2 separate regions of the Homo sapiens genome follow, and region 2 is linked to region 1. Evidence: promoter capture Hi-C in 16 types of primary human blood cells and fetal thymus (Javierre and others, 2016). All regions are on one chromosome and are shown on one strand. The core of a region is centred on a gene start or on the middle of the fragment in contact, and the rest is flanking DNA. Distances in the headings are between cores, read along the strand shown.

What was found. The method cuts DNA at HindIII sites, captures the fragments that hold promoters and counts their contacts. A CHiCAGO score of 5 or more calls a contact.
Region 2: the fragment with the promoter of USP1 here is called in contact with the fragment with the promoter of CMPK1 in region 1 in 1 of 17 cell types (total CD8 T cells); the score reaches 5.0 in total CD8 T cells.

The regions. Positions count from the first base shown.
Region 1 is chr1:47,329,946-47,336,671 of GRCh38, forward strand. It overlaps CMPK1 (cytidine/uridine monophosphate kinase 1), which reads left to right and starts at 3,845. Exons shown (of 6, transcript NM_016308.3): 1 at 3,845-4,171. The coding sequence starts at 4,001. RefSeq lists a silencer at 3,758-4,397 and enhancers at 3,784-4,587, 4,588-5,391, 4,908-4,967. The HindIII fragment of the contact is 8,075 bases long and covers 1-4,752 here.
Region 2 is chr1:62,434,381-62,441,106 of GRCh38, forward strand. It overlaps USP1 (ubiquitin specific peptidase 1), which reads left to right and starts at 2,669. Exons shown (of 9, transcript NM_003368.5): 1 at 2,669-3,020; 2 at 5,419-5,657. The coding sequence starts at 5,488. RefSeq lists enhancers at 1,136-1,903, 1,586-1,935, 1,904-2,671, 2,496-2,565, 5,659-5,718 and a silencer at 3,266-3,325. The HindIII fragment of the contact is 3,360 bases long and covers 1,265-4,624 here.

The DNA of each region.
Region 1 (6,726 bases), core at 2,595-5,094:
GGATGACCTGAGGTCGGGAGTTCGAGACCAGCCTGACCAACATGGAGAAACCCCGTCACTACTAAAAATACAAAAAAATTAGCCAGGCGTGGTGGTGCATGCCTGTAATCCCAGCTACTTGGGAGGCCGAGGCAGGAGAATCGCTTGAACCCGGGAGGCAGAGGTTGTGGTGAGCTGAGATTGTGCCATTGCACTCCAGCCTGGGCAACAAGAGTGAAACTCTGTCTCAAAAAAAAAGAATGTTTCTTGTTTTAAGTCATTGATTTGGGAATGGCTGTTTTGTAGCAATAGATAACTGGAACAGACTCAAAGGGCCAACTAGTCATAAAGTGTTTTTTTGCCTCACCTTGTCATTCCTGGAAATGACTCCCTGGAAAACCCTTCGCAGAGATGGGTGTCTGGGTTTCAGTTTTTAGAAATCTTTCCACATTAATATTTTCCTTAGTTGCCTAACATAACTGGCAGAAGGAGACAGGCAAGGAACAGGACATTAAGTACTCAACCAACTGTGGTCATAATTATCCAGAAAGTTTTTTTCTCTGTGAAAAAAAAATCACCACATATTGCTTTAAGTAGGTTTACTAGGAAGTTTCAGACCCAAACCCCTGTGTGGAATCCTTAGTTCTGGTGTTCTATCATGGAAACAACAAAGACTGTCTTTTTGTCTCTAGCCCAAGGCCTTCACTAAAAGTATGCCAATAGCTTCCTAGCCCTTTTTCTCACAGACACCATATCCTTAAGATCTTTTAACTCTAATTGTGTGAACAAAGGAAAAGAAGACACATTTGTTTTGATATGGCCTTTTTCATACTCCTGCTACCCATTCCCAATATGACCAATTGTCCTTGTTCTTGGCTGCCCATGTCCTAGCTCCTCCTCCCCAGAAGCTGAAGGGTTTGGAGCCTTCTTTTTTTTGAGACAGAGTCTTGCTCTGTCGCCAGGCTGGAGTGCAGTGGTGCGATCTCAGCTCACTGCAACCTCCACCTCCTGGGTTCAAGCAATTCTCCTGCCTCAGCCTCCCAAGTAGCTGGGATTACAGGCATGCACCACCACATCCAGCTAATTTTGTATTTTTAGTAGAACTGGGGTTTCACCGTGTTAGCCAAGCTGGTTTCCAACCTCAGGTGATCTGCCCACCTTGGCCTCGCAAAGTGCTGGGATTACATGCATGAGCCGCTGCGCCCGGCCGTGTTTTTTTATGTGAAAATTCACATATCTAAACGTGGGTCCCTGTTTTTGTATAGCCTTCAAGCTCAAAATAATGTTCACATTTTAAAATGGATTTTAAAAATAAAAATAAATAATATTTTGGGACACATGCAAATTATATAAATTCAAATTTCAGTATCCATAGAAAAATGTTTTGTTTTTGTTTTGAGACAGGGTCTGGCTCTGTTGCCCAGGTTAGAATGTAGTAGCACGATCTTGGCTCACTGGAGTTTGCACCTCCTAGGCTCAAGGGCTGCTCCCACCTCAGCCTCCACCTCCTGGGCTCAAGGGATCCTCCCACCTCAGCCTCCCATCTCAGCCTTCCGAGCATCTGGGACTACAGGTGCACACCACCACCTGTAGTGTAGTGTAGGCCTGGCTGGGCGCGGTGGCTCATGCCTGCAATCCCAGCACTTTGGGAGGCCAAGGCAGGAGGATCACTTGAGCCCAGGAGTTCAAGACCAGCCTGGACAACATGGTGAAACCCCCTCTCTACTAAAAATACAAAAATTAACCAGGGGTGGTGGCAGGTGCCTGTAATCCCAGCTACTTGGGAGGCTGAGGCAGAAGAATCGCTTGAACCTGGGAGGTGGAGGTTGCAGTGAGCCAAGATGGCACCACTGCATTCCAGCGTGGGTGACAGAGTGAGACTCTATCCCCCCCAAAAAAATTTTTTTCCAGCTGTGATAATAAAAAATATCCCATTCTCCTTTCTATGGTGGGAAGGAAAAGGTAGAAGTTGTGGAGAGGAAAGAGGTAGAAATTAAAGGGAGAATGGAAAAGAAGGGCAAACAAAGGCAAGTAGGTGAGGAGAAGGACAGGAAAAGAGACAGGGAGAAGGGAGGGACTTATAAATGGGAAAAGAAGGGTAGGAAGGATGGGAATAAGTAAAAACAACAACAACAAAAAGAAAGCAAGGAGAGAGAGTAGAGATGGGGAAGAGCCAGAAAATGCTGAGTGAGCTAAGAAAGGACCACCAAAAGAAAAAGGAGAATGGGGGTGGTCAGACAGAGGGCTATACCACTATCTTCCTCTCCTGTTTGCTTTCGTTTACTAACGTCCTGGTCACTCTGCCCTAAACAGCTTAGTTCCTTTCCCATAGTCTTTGTTCACTCCAGCACTATCTGACTTGAACTTGTACCTGTACGACAAATCTAACACCCTGGACTCTTAGTTCTAAAAACAGGACATGCATTCTGCCTCAGTCTTCCATTCCCATGGTCTCACCCTGGACCTTGGCATCATCAGAAACTCAGAAGCTGGGACATTTCAATTCCAAATATCCCACTCAGACCAGCAGCATCCATACTGCCAGAGCACTTGCTCATATACCCCACTGCAATCTTTCTTGGGCCAATGCTCTAAGACATTGGTCCCTTTCCCCACCACCCTCCAACCCCTCCACTACCAGGCTTCATGTGCCATTATTTGCTTTCCTGTATGGTTTTGATTCTACACACAGCATCATGAACATTCTCTTCCAAACACTCTCATCACTTGGCCCCCTCTCTCTGTTGTACTTGCCAGGCAAAATCCCAACCCTCAGTAAATGCAACAAGCTGCCTTCTCTGCCTGTGCCTGAATGGCCAAACATCTTCAATTATTTTGAATCCGTTACCTCAAATATCAAATGAGCTCTTAACGTTGGCCAGAAGGCCTTTTAAAGGCCTGTATGCACCAAGGCTCAGTTCTTGAACGTCTCCTTTTCTTCTCCCTTAAGATTCTTCCCTAATGAAGGGGGCAGGCGAACGGAGTTAAAGGGCTTCCATTGCTGTTAGAATACAGCCCAAATTCCTTTCCATAATCAAAAGTCCTGATCTGCCACCGACCTCACTTTCTCAACTTTTCACCTTCCATTCTCCCCTCATTTGACTCAGCCCTGGTCTCACTGTCACTGGCCTTTTTTCCTTTTTTTTTTTTGAAGCAGTCTCATTGTCACCTAGGCAGGAGTGCAGTGGTGCTATTACGGCTCCTAGGCTCAAGTGAACATCCCAGTAGCTGGGATCACAGGCACGGGTCACGGTGCCCGGCTTTTAAATTTTTGGTCGAGACGGGGTCTCGTCATGTTGTCCAGGCTGGTCTCGAACTCCTGGGCTCAAGCCATCCTCCTGCCTCAGCCTCCCAAAATGCTGGGATTACAGGCGTGAGCCACCGCGCCCAGCCAGGCCTTCCTTCAATTGCTTTAACATGCCAAACCAACTTAGATTTTTTGCACATGCTTTTCTCTGTGGGACACTCTATCCTGGTGTTTGCCTGGTTTCGCTCTTTTCTATCCTTTTGTCTTGGCTTGAATGTCACCTCTTCTGAAGCCTTCTCTGGCGACCCTGGCCATCTTATGTCCTACTTGTTATTTCTTCAAAATCGTACTGCCTTTTGTATGTACTGGTGTTTACTCATTCACACTGGCTACCTCCCCATACCTCACTGGCTGGAATGGAAACTCATTGCGAGCAGAGACAATAGGTTTTGCTCTCCCGCGGATCACGTCCCAGCCTCCAGCTCAGCACCAGACACTTGAGGGCGCAGGATAAAATATCTGCAGTCAGAAAGCACTAATAACCACCCAAGGGTTGGAGGAAAGCTGGCGCGGACCGCACGAGTGTCGCCGAGACGCCGCCGCCGTGCGAAGCTCCTCCCCTTCCGACAGGGCCGCGGACGCCCGGGCAGCCACGGCGGCGGGGCCGCGGCGGGCGCCGGCTCAGCCCGCCCCTTTCTCCCGCCGCCTCCCCGCCCCGCCCCGCGCCGCGCCGGCCGCTGTCAGCTCCCTCAGCGTCCGGCCGAGGCGCGGTGTATGCTGAGCCGCTGCCGCAGCGGGCTGCTCCACGTCCTGGGCCTTAGCTTCCTGCTGCAGACCCGCCGGCCGATTCTCCTCTGCTCTCCACGTCTCATGAAGCCGCTGGTCGTGTTCGTCCTCGGCGGCCCCGGCGCCGGCAAGGGGACCCAGTGCGCCCGCATCGTCGAGGTGAGGCCCGGGCAGCAGGCGGGCTCCTTGGGGCTTGACGGGATGCGGGCCGGCCTGTCCCGCCGCCCCTAGTCCGCGCCCCGCGGAGTCGCCGAGCCGCAGACTACGAGTCCCGGCGGCCACCGCGCCGCCCGCGTGGCAGTGGCCGAGGGCCGCCGGCGCGCGGCGTGCCGGGACTTGTAGTCCGCGCCCGCCCGCCTTGGGGGCCACCGCTTGAGGTCGCTTTGTTCCTGCGCCCCTTCTTTTCTTACATTTTGGGGACCAGATTCGTCTCTAGAGTGGGCTGGGAGAGGGATCCCGGAGGCCAACCTTTGGGGGTCCCCCAGCGCGCAGAGGTTAGCGTGTCGCTGATCGTGTGGCAGGTGAAGGCAGCAGGAGCGCGGATTTGGGTTAGAGGCCGTGTGCGCCCACAGTTGTCTGAAGGAGAGACCTATTTTTCTTCTCCGCGCCTTCCCTCTGGTTCCCTAAACTCCGCACTGTCACCGAACGTGTCTTTACTCTAGAAAGGAGGCCCGTGGGGCGGGGTGTTATTTTAGGCGTGCTGTGGGCTGCCGCTGGCACTCTCGAGCCCCGTCCCCGCAAGCTTTAGGGCGGAGCCAGCCCTGAGGCTCGGCCCGGGTCGGGGATGGGGAAAGCCGGGAGTGCTGTTCTGAGATCAAGCTTCAACCTTTGGCCCTGCTGCCAACTCACGCTCGGCCCTCGGTCACTTCCTGTCTCCCAGCCTCAGTTAGCCCTTGTAATACAGTAAAAAGAGTCTCTGAACCCAGATTTTCTCAGGATATAAAACACCTCCCAAATGTAAAATGCTGTTACTTTTTTTTCTTTTGCTTTGAGACAGGTTACCAGTTCAATTCTTTTAACAATTTTTGAGCTAGATGTATGGTTGGTTAGCTGCATTGACACTGTGGGAAAAAAAGGCTTCATGGACAATCTGGGGAATGCTTGGGAAAGAAGGAAAACAGGATATCTAGAAACAGAAGAGGCGACCATTGGTGGCCTCTAGTGAAATCACTCTGAAACCCTGTAACCAACAAAAGTTTTTTTGACCTAGAACTTATAATTTCCTCCTCTTCTAGGATATGGCCAATATTAGCATGGGGCTTTTGCTTCTCTCCTTATATGTTCATAACAATCAACTCCTGTCCTGTATTTTATTCCCTAAATAGCATCCAGAGAAAGTTAGATGAGTTCAACAAGTCATTATGTGTTGGACAGATGTATTTATAAATATTGATCATTTTGCCAGGCGCTGTGGCTCACTCCTGTAATCCCAGCACTTTGGGAGGCCGAGGCTGGCGGATCACGAGGTCAGGAGTTCGAGACCAGCCTGGCTAACATGGCGAAACGTTGTCTTTACTAAAAATACAAAAATTAGCCTGGCGTGGTGGCGGGCGCCTGTAATCCCAGCTACTCCGAAGGCTGAGGCAGGAGAATCGCTTGAAACCGGAAGGCGGAGGTTGCGGTGAGCCCATATCGCGCCACTGCACACTAGCCTGGGCGAAAGAGTGAAACTCCGTCTCAAAAAAAAAAAAAAAAAAAAAATCATTTTAGGTGTCAAAGTGGAACTAGTCCAACTAAAAAAATACATAACATTTACATCCTCTTAAAAAAATTTTTTTTTGTTGGTTCTCTTTCTTTTGTTGTTTTTTTGTTTTTGTTTTTGTTTTTGTGACAGTCTCACTCCGTCACCAGGCTGGAGTGCGGTGGTGCGATCTCAGCACACTGCAACCTCCGCCTCCCAGGTTCAAGCGATTTTCCTGCCTCAGCCTCTGCATAGCTGGGATTACAGGCGTGCGCCACCACGCCTGGCTAATTTTTGTATTTTTGGTAGAGACAGGGTTTCACCATGTTGGCCAGGCTGATCTCGAACTCTTGACCTCGTGATCTGCCCGCCTCAGCCTCCCAAAGTGCTGGGATTATAGGCATGAGCCACCGTGCCTGGCCTTGTCACTTGTCTTTTAAAAAGTAAAGAGACTGGCTGCTGCACTCCAGCCTGGGCGACAGAGCGAGACTCCGTCTCAGAAATAAATAAATAAATAAATAAATGGCAAGTGAAAAGTGGGAGTGATTTCAAATTTTTGTTTAGTATATGTGATCTTTCTTAAATAGCATGATGGGGGAAGGGGCAAAGACTTTAGAGTCAAAGAGATATAGGTTCAAACCCTGACTCTGCCATTTACTGTTTCTCTAGGCCCAGAGATGTTGTTGCCTTTAGTTCCCTGTGAAAAGGGAAAACATAGAAATGGCTGTTTTGTATGGTATTTGTGAATATTAAATGAGGTAAAATATCTGGCACACAGAGACAGATGCAGATAGTTTTTTTCTCCACTTTAAACTTCTGATCTTATTACCTCTACTTTAAACTTCCTGATCTTATTATATTGGTTATTTTTATTGGTGGGTTTTGTTGTTGTTGTTTGTTTTGAGATCGAGTCTCTCTGTGTCACCCAGGCTGGAGTGCTGTGGTACCATCTTGGCCCACTCCAACCTCTGCCTCCTGGGCTCAAGCCATCCTCTCACCTCAGTCTCCCAAGTAGCTGGGATGACAGGTGTGC
Region 2 (6,726 bases), core at 1,419-3,918, about 15 Mb after region 1:
TAGAGTTTGAAAGTAGCAATAATTATGCTAGTACTAGAAAATGAGACACTGCCACTCTGTGGTGCACAATGGCTAAGACTGACCTATATACATTTTCTAATCTTGTCCTTGTGTATTTCGTGATCTGCTGGTTCAACATCTGTTTGTACGTTAAACACCTCAATCTTAATATTCTAAGAACGATGATCCTTCCCATTGAGCCTACTAAGACCCCCATTTTAGCAAGGACCAACACTGAGTTGCTCAGGTTAAAAAAAAAATCGTTACTCTTTGTTTTTTTTTCTTTTTTCGGGTGGGAGGGTGGAGGGCAGGGCCTCACACTGTTGCCCAGGCTGGAGTGCAGTGGTGCATCTCGGCTCACTGCAGCCAGGGGATCCTCCTCCCTCATCCTCCCGAGTGGCTGGGACTACAGGCACGTGCCACCACGCACGGCCAATTTTTGGAGTTTTTTGTAGCGATGGGTCTTGCCATGTTGCCCAGGCTGATCTTGAACTCCTGGGTTCAAGCGGTCCACCGGCCCTGGCTACCCGACCTGTTTTTTCTTACATTATCATACAGCCAATCCATCAGTAGAGCTCGTTGGCTGTGCTCAAAATATATCTTGAACCCTACCAGTTTTCAACATCCCACCATCTTATTCCAGACTACCATAATTTATTCCTTGGCTTATTGAACCAGCATCTTGGCTGACCTTTCCGCTGGTACTTTTCTTTTTTTGAGACAGAGTTTTGCTCTGGTTGCCCAGGCTGGAGTGCAGTGAGGCGATCTCGGCTCACCGCAACCTCCGCCTCCTGGGTTCAAGCGATTCTCCTGCCTCAGCCTCCGGAGTAGCTGGGATTACAGGCCTGCGCCACCACGCCCGGCTAATTTTGTATTTTTAGTAGGGACGGGGTTTCTCCATGTTGGTCAGGCTGGTCTCGAATTCCCGACCTCAAGAGATCAGCCCGCCTTGGCCTCCCAACGTGCTGGGATTACAAGCGTGAGCCACCACGCCCGACCCTGCTTGTACTCTTGAAGGTCAACGTGTAATCCCGCCACTCCCCAGCTCAGAATCATCTAACGACTCCCATCTCCTTACTCGGCTTACCCAGGGTCCTGCCTTTCTCACTCATCTCATCTCCTCCCATCTTATTTCCCAAATTGACTGCGCTCTAAGCGCCCTGGCCTCCTTGCTTCTTTTCAAAACACCAACCACATTAAGCTTCAGGACGTTTGTAACTTGCTGTTCTCTCTGCCCGCACCATTCTTCCCTCAGATTCCTCCAAGCTTTTTCATTCAGCTCTGCTCAAATGTCAACTCAAAGAGGTCTTTCCAGGCTATCGTATCTATCACTTATCTTAGCGTCACTTGTATCTCCCTCTCCAGAATGTAATGCTCCTTTATGACAGGGAATGCCTTTACATCCCTCGCGCCTTGAAAAATGCCTGGCACATAGTAGGCACCTTAAAAATACTTGATTAAATGGATTTGGGCTGAACGTATCCTGCTTAACTGCAGCACTTGAGCTGAGGTCACCTCACCAAAGCAGGCACACAAACACAAAAGGAAGCACACAACCAGATGAGGCCTGCCTGCCGCTCCTGAACCCTTTGGGAGGGCTCGCGCGGGAACCCTGGGAAGCTCCCGCGGCCGGAGCTGGGCCTGAAACTGTTCTTTCGTTTCCTCCTGCGGCCGAGAAAGGGAAGAGGTAAACAGGCGAAAATGAGGCGAGCAGGGGCTGAGGACCGGGCCTCAGCTCTACAGCATTCGCCTGAGCATGTATTGTTATCCGTGGCAGCGCCTTGTCTCATTGGATGGCCCTAGGCCTAGTGTGGCCGCGACTCCGAACTGAAAGCCCAAGCGCGGCGGCGTCCAGCCGGGCAGCCATTTTCCGAAGCTGCTCTCTTGGTAACCCCGCCCGGGCGCGTACGCACGAACGGAGGCGGGGCTTACCGCGAGGGCCTCGCTCCGGAAGCCGCACCCTCCGCGGCGTCCCACCGTCGAGGATTAACAAAACGCCAAACAAGATTTTAACAGTCGGCAGCGAAAGCGCGCACTCGAGCGCCAATGAGAGCGGAAGGAGGGGCACCGCGCCTGAGGAACACTCCGTATGTCGAACAATGATTGGCTGGAGCCCACCTTTCTTCTTTTTTGCTATTAGATGGGCTTGCTGCTCCCGCCCATCTAATTGGCTTTGGTCTAGGTACTTCTGATTGGCTTCCCCCGGGCGGTGGGAGGCGCGGTTTTGGGGATTGTTCATCATGGATTGGTGAATTTGGGCTCCTTCTCGAGGTGGTGGCCCATCCCGTCTGCTCTCTGTCCCGTCTCCCGACCCGTACGCTTTTCCCTCAACTCGCGCGCACGAATGGTTAAAAAAAGGGTGTGAGGCTCGAGCCCGCCAGCCAGGCCGCTAGCACCTCGCGCGCGCCCTCAGCGAGGACCCGCACGAGCTGCCCGGCTCTGTGCCTGCGTTGTTTGAAACTGTGGAACCCGTTAGGCTTTTGGGGAACTACAGTCCCAGCTGGCTCCGGAGCCCGTGCGTGCCAGGGGCGAGTGGCCGTCGCGAGACGGCTCCTGCCTTTCGTGTCTCTGCAGCGTGGAGACTGGAACCGGCAATTTCAAAGGACGCCACGTTCAATCGCAGCGCTGGCGCGGGCGGAGGCTAAAACACGGGGGTCCTGAGACTGAGGAAAACGCGCCAAGTTCCCCTCGGTGGCGGAGTGCTAAAGACCCTAGCGGTTCAGGCGTTCGGCGAGCGGGGCCGCTGCTTGTTGCGCTCCTGGCTCTCCCGGGGCGGGCGCAGATGGGCGCCGCTCCCGGGATGTAGTTGGTGTTGGTGCAAGACGGGAGCGAGCGGCGGTCGGGGTTCCCGCTCTTGGGAGCGGATGGTCACTCCCCCGCGGGGAGGGCGAGCCGACCAGATTTTCCTGGGGCCGGGGACCCGGCGGGCTCGGGGCAGGGACTCACCTGTCGCACCCACACTCATTCGGGTTGGACTTGCCGGCGTCACCGCCGCGGACTTCGCTTTGGGCCATGACCAGGTAAGGAGGGCCTGGGAGGAGGGGCCGGCTCCCGGGCGCGGGGGCAAGTTCGGCCGGCGCGGGAGAGGAGCTGCCGGGGAGACCCCGGGACCGTGTTGGCCTCGCACCCTGGTCGACCTGCCAGGGGGAGCCGTGTGTGCCTCGGGCGTGGCGCCTGTCTTGCCGCCGCCGGGACGCGAGAAGGCAGGTGCGGGCTGGGCGTAAATAGGCCAACTCCGCGGCGAGGGCGCCCGGCGCGGGGGTGTGGGCCGAGGACGCCGCCGCCAGCCTCCCCCGACCGGGCAGCCTGGTCGCTGCTCGTCCTTCCAGCTTTCTTTCCGTTCCCGAGAGCGGTGAAGGATGGGGAGAAAGAAACGTTTCCACGCAGGTTGCCCTGTGTCGGTAATTGCGAAATTTTACCGCGCATTTTCTTTCACTTACACTTTTTCAAGAAGTGTTTAGAACGCCGCGTGTCTTAAACCTTGGCGAAGATGTCCTTGTAGATTTTTGTTGAAAAATCGGAATCGAGTCGTGTCATCTTATAAAGAATTTAAAACTATTGGGACTGAGTGTTCACGCTGTCAACAGATAATGGTCGATTCGTCGTGCTTTCTGCGAAAGTTGATTTAGTTACAGGAGAAATATTTTGGATGTAACAGCCCCCCAGTTACAAGGAAAGCCAGGAGCAAGAAATAGCAAGGAAGATACTGCACCTGGCAAAATGTTACATTCTCGGTGTGAGCTTTGCTTTGAGGGGCTAGGAGGTTTGGTTTTTTGATTAAGCTGACGATCCGCTATTTCACCTGCCTAATCATTCTTCCCTTCTGTGTAGTCTGGTTACTCTGTCGGTTTGAGATCCAGTTTCTGTCATCCATTAAATTGGCTCTCGAGAAAAACCTTTTATCAGAATCATTAATGCTTGGCGATCCCTGAGAACTTAGCGCAGGTTGGTTTATCATTCAGAAGACAGCGCTTCCTCAGAAGCATTAGGTAGACAGGAGAGTAAGTGAAGTTGGAGACAGAATGGAGAGATGGATCAGCTTTCCAGTGCTTCCTGATTTGGGTCTCAGAAATGGTTTCAGTGTGCTGAGTTCAGTATGAATTCCTAGATCAGTGTCAGCCATGTGAAATGCTTATTAAGGATGAAATTTGAGTGAGTCTTGTGTAGTTCATTTTATTACTCTGCATTTTAAATTTGAAACTCGTTGCTGAAGTTTTGGGCTTTAAGTAATTTTATGGTAATACTCTAGTCAGATAATTTTTCCTCCCATGTCCTGAAAAATAGGCCTGATGTAGAAAATATTAACTCCTACACTCCTACAAATGTTGCCATTTTTTTTCACGTGCAAGTTTTACTTTAAAACAGGGTGGGAAAGTTGCAAATGGCAAACCAAATCATCTTTTTTTCCTACTCAAAGCACTATTTTTAAAATCCAAAGTTTTTTAAAAAGTTTGGAAAACGAGTATTGTGGTTTCTAGTGCATTAAGAATTGGATTTACACAAAGTGCATCGAACAGTTTTTTTTATCACGGTCTCAACTTTGCTTGTGTTTTATCTTTCACTTACGGTTTTAGGTATAACTTAACACCATCTCTATGCCTTGAATGCAAATTATTCTTTAATAAGCTTTTTAGGTACTTTATTTTCATATATCCATGTTAATAACTAGAAAAGGCATTGGAAGAGAGGACTCATCGTCCAGCACTACTTTGATTTTCCATTCATCCTTTCCTACCTTGTACTTGAGAATTAGAGGTGGTAGTGCTCAGTCAATATTTTCTGAATGAATCATTATAATGAAATATTAAGTTGTTTTTTTTTTGAGACTAAGTCTTGCTCTATGGCCCAGGCTGGAGTGCAATGGCACGATCTCGGCTCACTGCAGCCTCCGCCTCCCGGATTCAAGGGATTCTCCTGTCTCAGCCTCCTGAGTAGCTGGGATTACAGGCGCCCGCCAGCACGCCCGGCTAATTTTTGTATTTTTAGTAGAGATGGGGTTTCACCATGTTGGTCAGGCTGGTCTCGAACTCCTGACCTCGTGATCCACTCGCTTCGGCCTCCCAAAGTGCTGGGATTACAGGCGTGAGCTATCGCTTCCGGCCCTTGAAATAATAAGTTTTTACTACTTATACTATTTTACTGTAGGTCTACTAAATAGGATATTTTGTAATGCGACCCTTAATCCATAGCAGGCTGATTTTAAAAATTCAGTAGCTTCTGTTTTTTGTTCTTTAAGAACAGTGTGGTATGCTTCTTCATTTAAGCAATAAATATTGAGTGCTTATTGGCAGGCATTAGGTTTTCAAATGTTAATTTCTAATTTGTACCATTCCCTTGGTAAATTTGTTTTCAAAATTGATGATTTTGTTGCCAAAACTGATAACCAAAAACTAATGAAACTTTCTCTGTGATTAACAGATATAATTGGTGATTACAACTTTCCTCTATAAATTAACTCTTGACACTCCTTGGGATTTGAAGAAAAAAATGCCTGGTGTCATACCTAGTGAAAGTAATGGACTTTCAAGAGGTAGCCCTTCAAAGAAAAACAGACTTTCCTTAAAGTTTTTTCAGAAAAAGGAAACTAAGAGAGCTTTGGATTTCACAGATTCTCAAGAAAATGAAGAAAAAGCTTCTGAATATAGAGCATCTGAAATGTATGTATCTTACATTTCTGTACTTTAAAAATTCTACAGTAAAGCAGCAGTGAACTTGGTTGACAACTCCAGTCTGACTTGATAGTCTGTAGCGGCACAAAAAAGTACGCTTCAGTGTACTTCTTAGTCAAATCTAGCAGTTTATAGTAGGAACAGCAAAACTGGTGGTTCCCCGTAGGAATCACATCGATAATGTTTAACTCATGTTAACACTGTGCTCAGCCATTTAGACTAACTTGGAGAAATATTTGTTGACTAAAATTGTCTTTCTGAGTTTAAATTTGATTATTTGTAGTGCAAAACATCTGTGTAGGGGTAAAAGGTTTTATATATATATATATATATATTTGTTTGGTTCAGAAGACTTGACAGTTATAAGACATTTTAAACTCTAGTCATGTAACTAGTCATACCTGTTGGAGGCATATGATTGCAAATTATAAAAATAAACTTTAAGTAATGCTTTTGATGCAAATAAATTATTTAGCTACAGAAAATAAATCAGAACAAAGTGGAATACTTTATTCCACCACCAGCAGCTCTAGCTGGAGTCTGTACTACTCCCTGTTTAACATATAGGCACTCTGCTGGGTGACTAAGGTGGATTTGGTCCCATGTGTTAATTTCCTAATAGCTATCAATAACCAGTTGAGGAGATTTGTGAGAGTGAAGCTTTTGTTTATCAGCATTCATACTTCTGAATACTTTGAGGTGCTAGAGTAATAATAGCTAGCAATCGTAAAATAAATGAAAATATTGGAAGGACCTAGTGGTTTTTTTGTTGTTGTTGTTAAAGAAGTAAAAGAATAGTAAACTTAAAGCATTTGTGTTTTGAGATGGGGTCTCCTTGTGTTGCCCAGGCTGGTCTTGAATTCCTGGGCTCGAGCAGTCCTCCCAAGTAGCTGGAATTACATGTCAATGCCCCCACACCCACATTCTGAACATTTTATTTTTAAGTGAGGGATAGCTACATATTTTTTTTTTTTTTACCAGCAGGAAGTCATATATAATTCTCTTCACAGACTTTCTTTCCTCTGAATTCTTATTAATAGAATCTTACTTAGTGCAG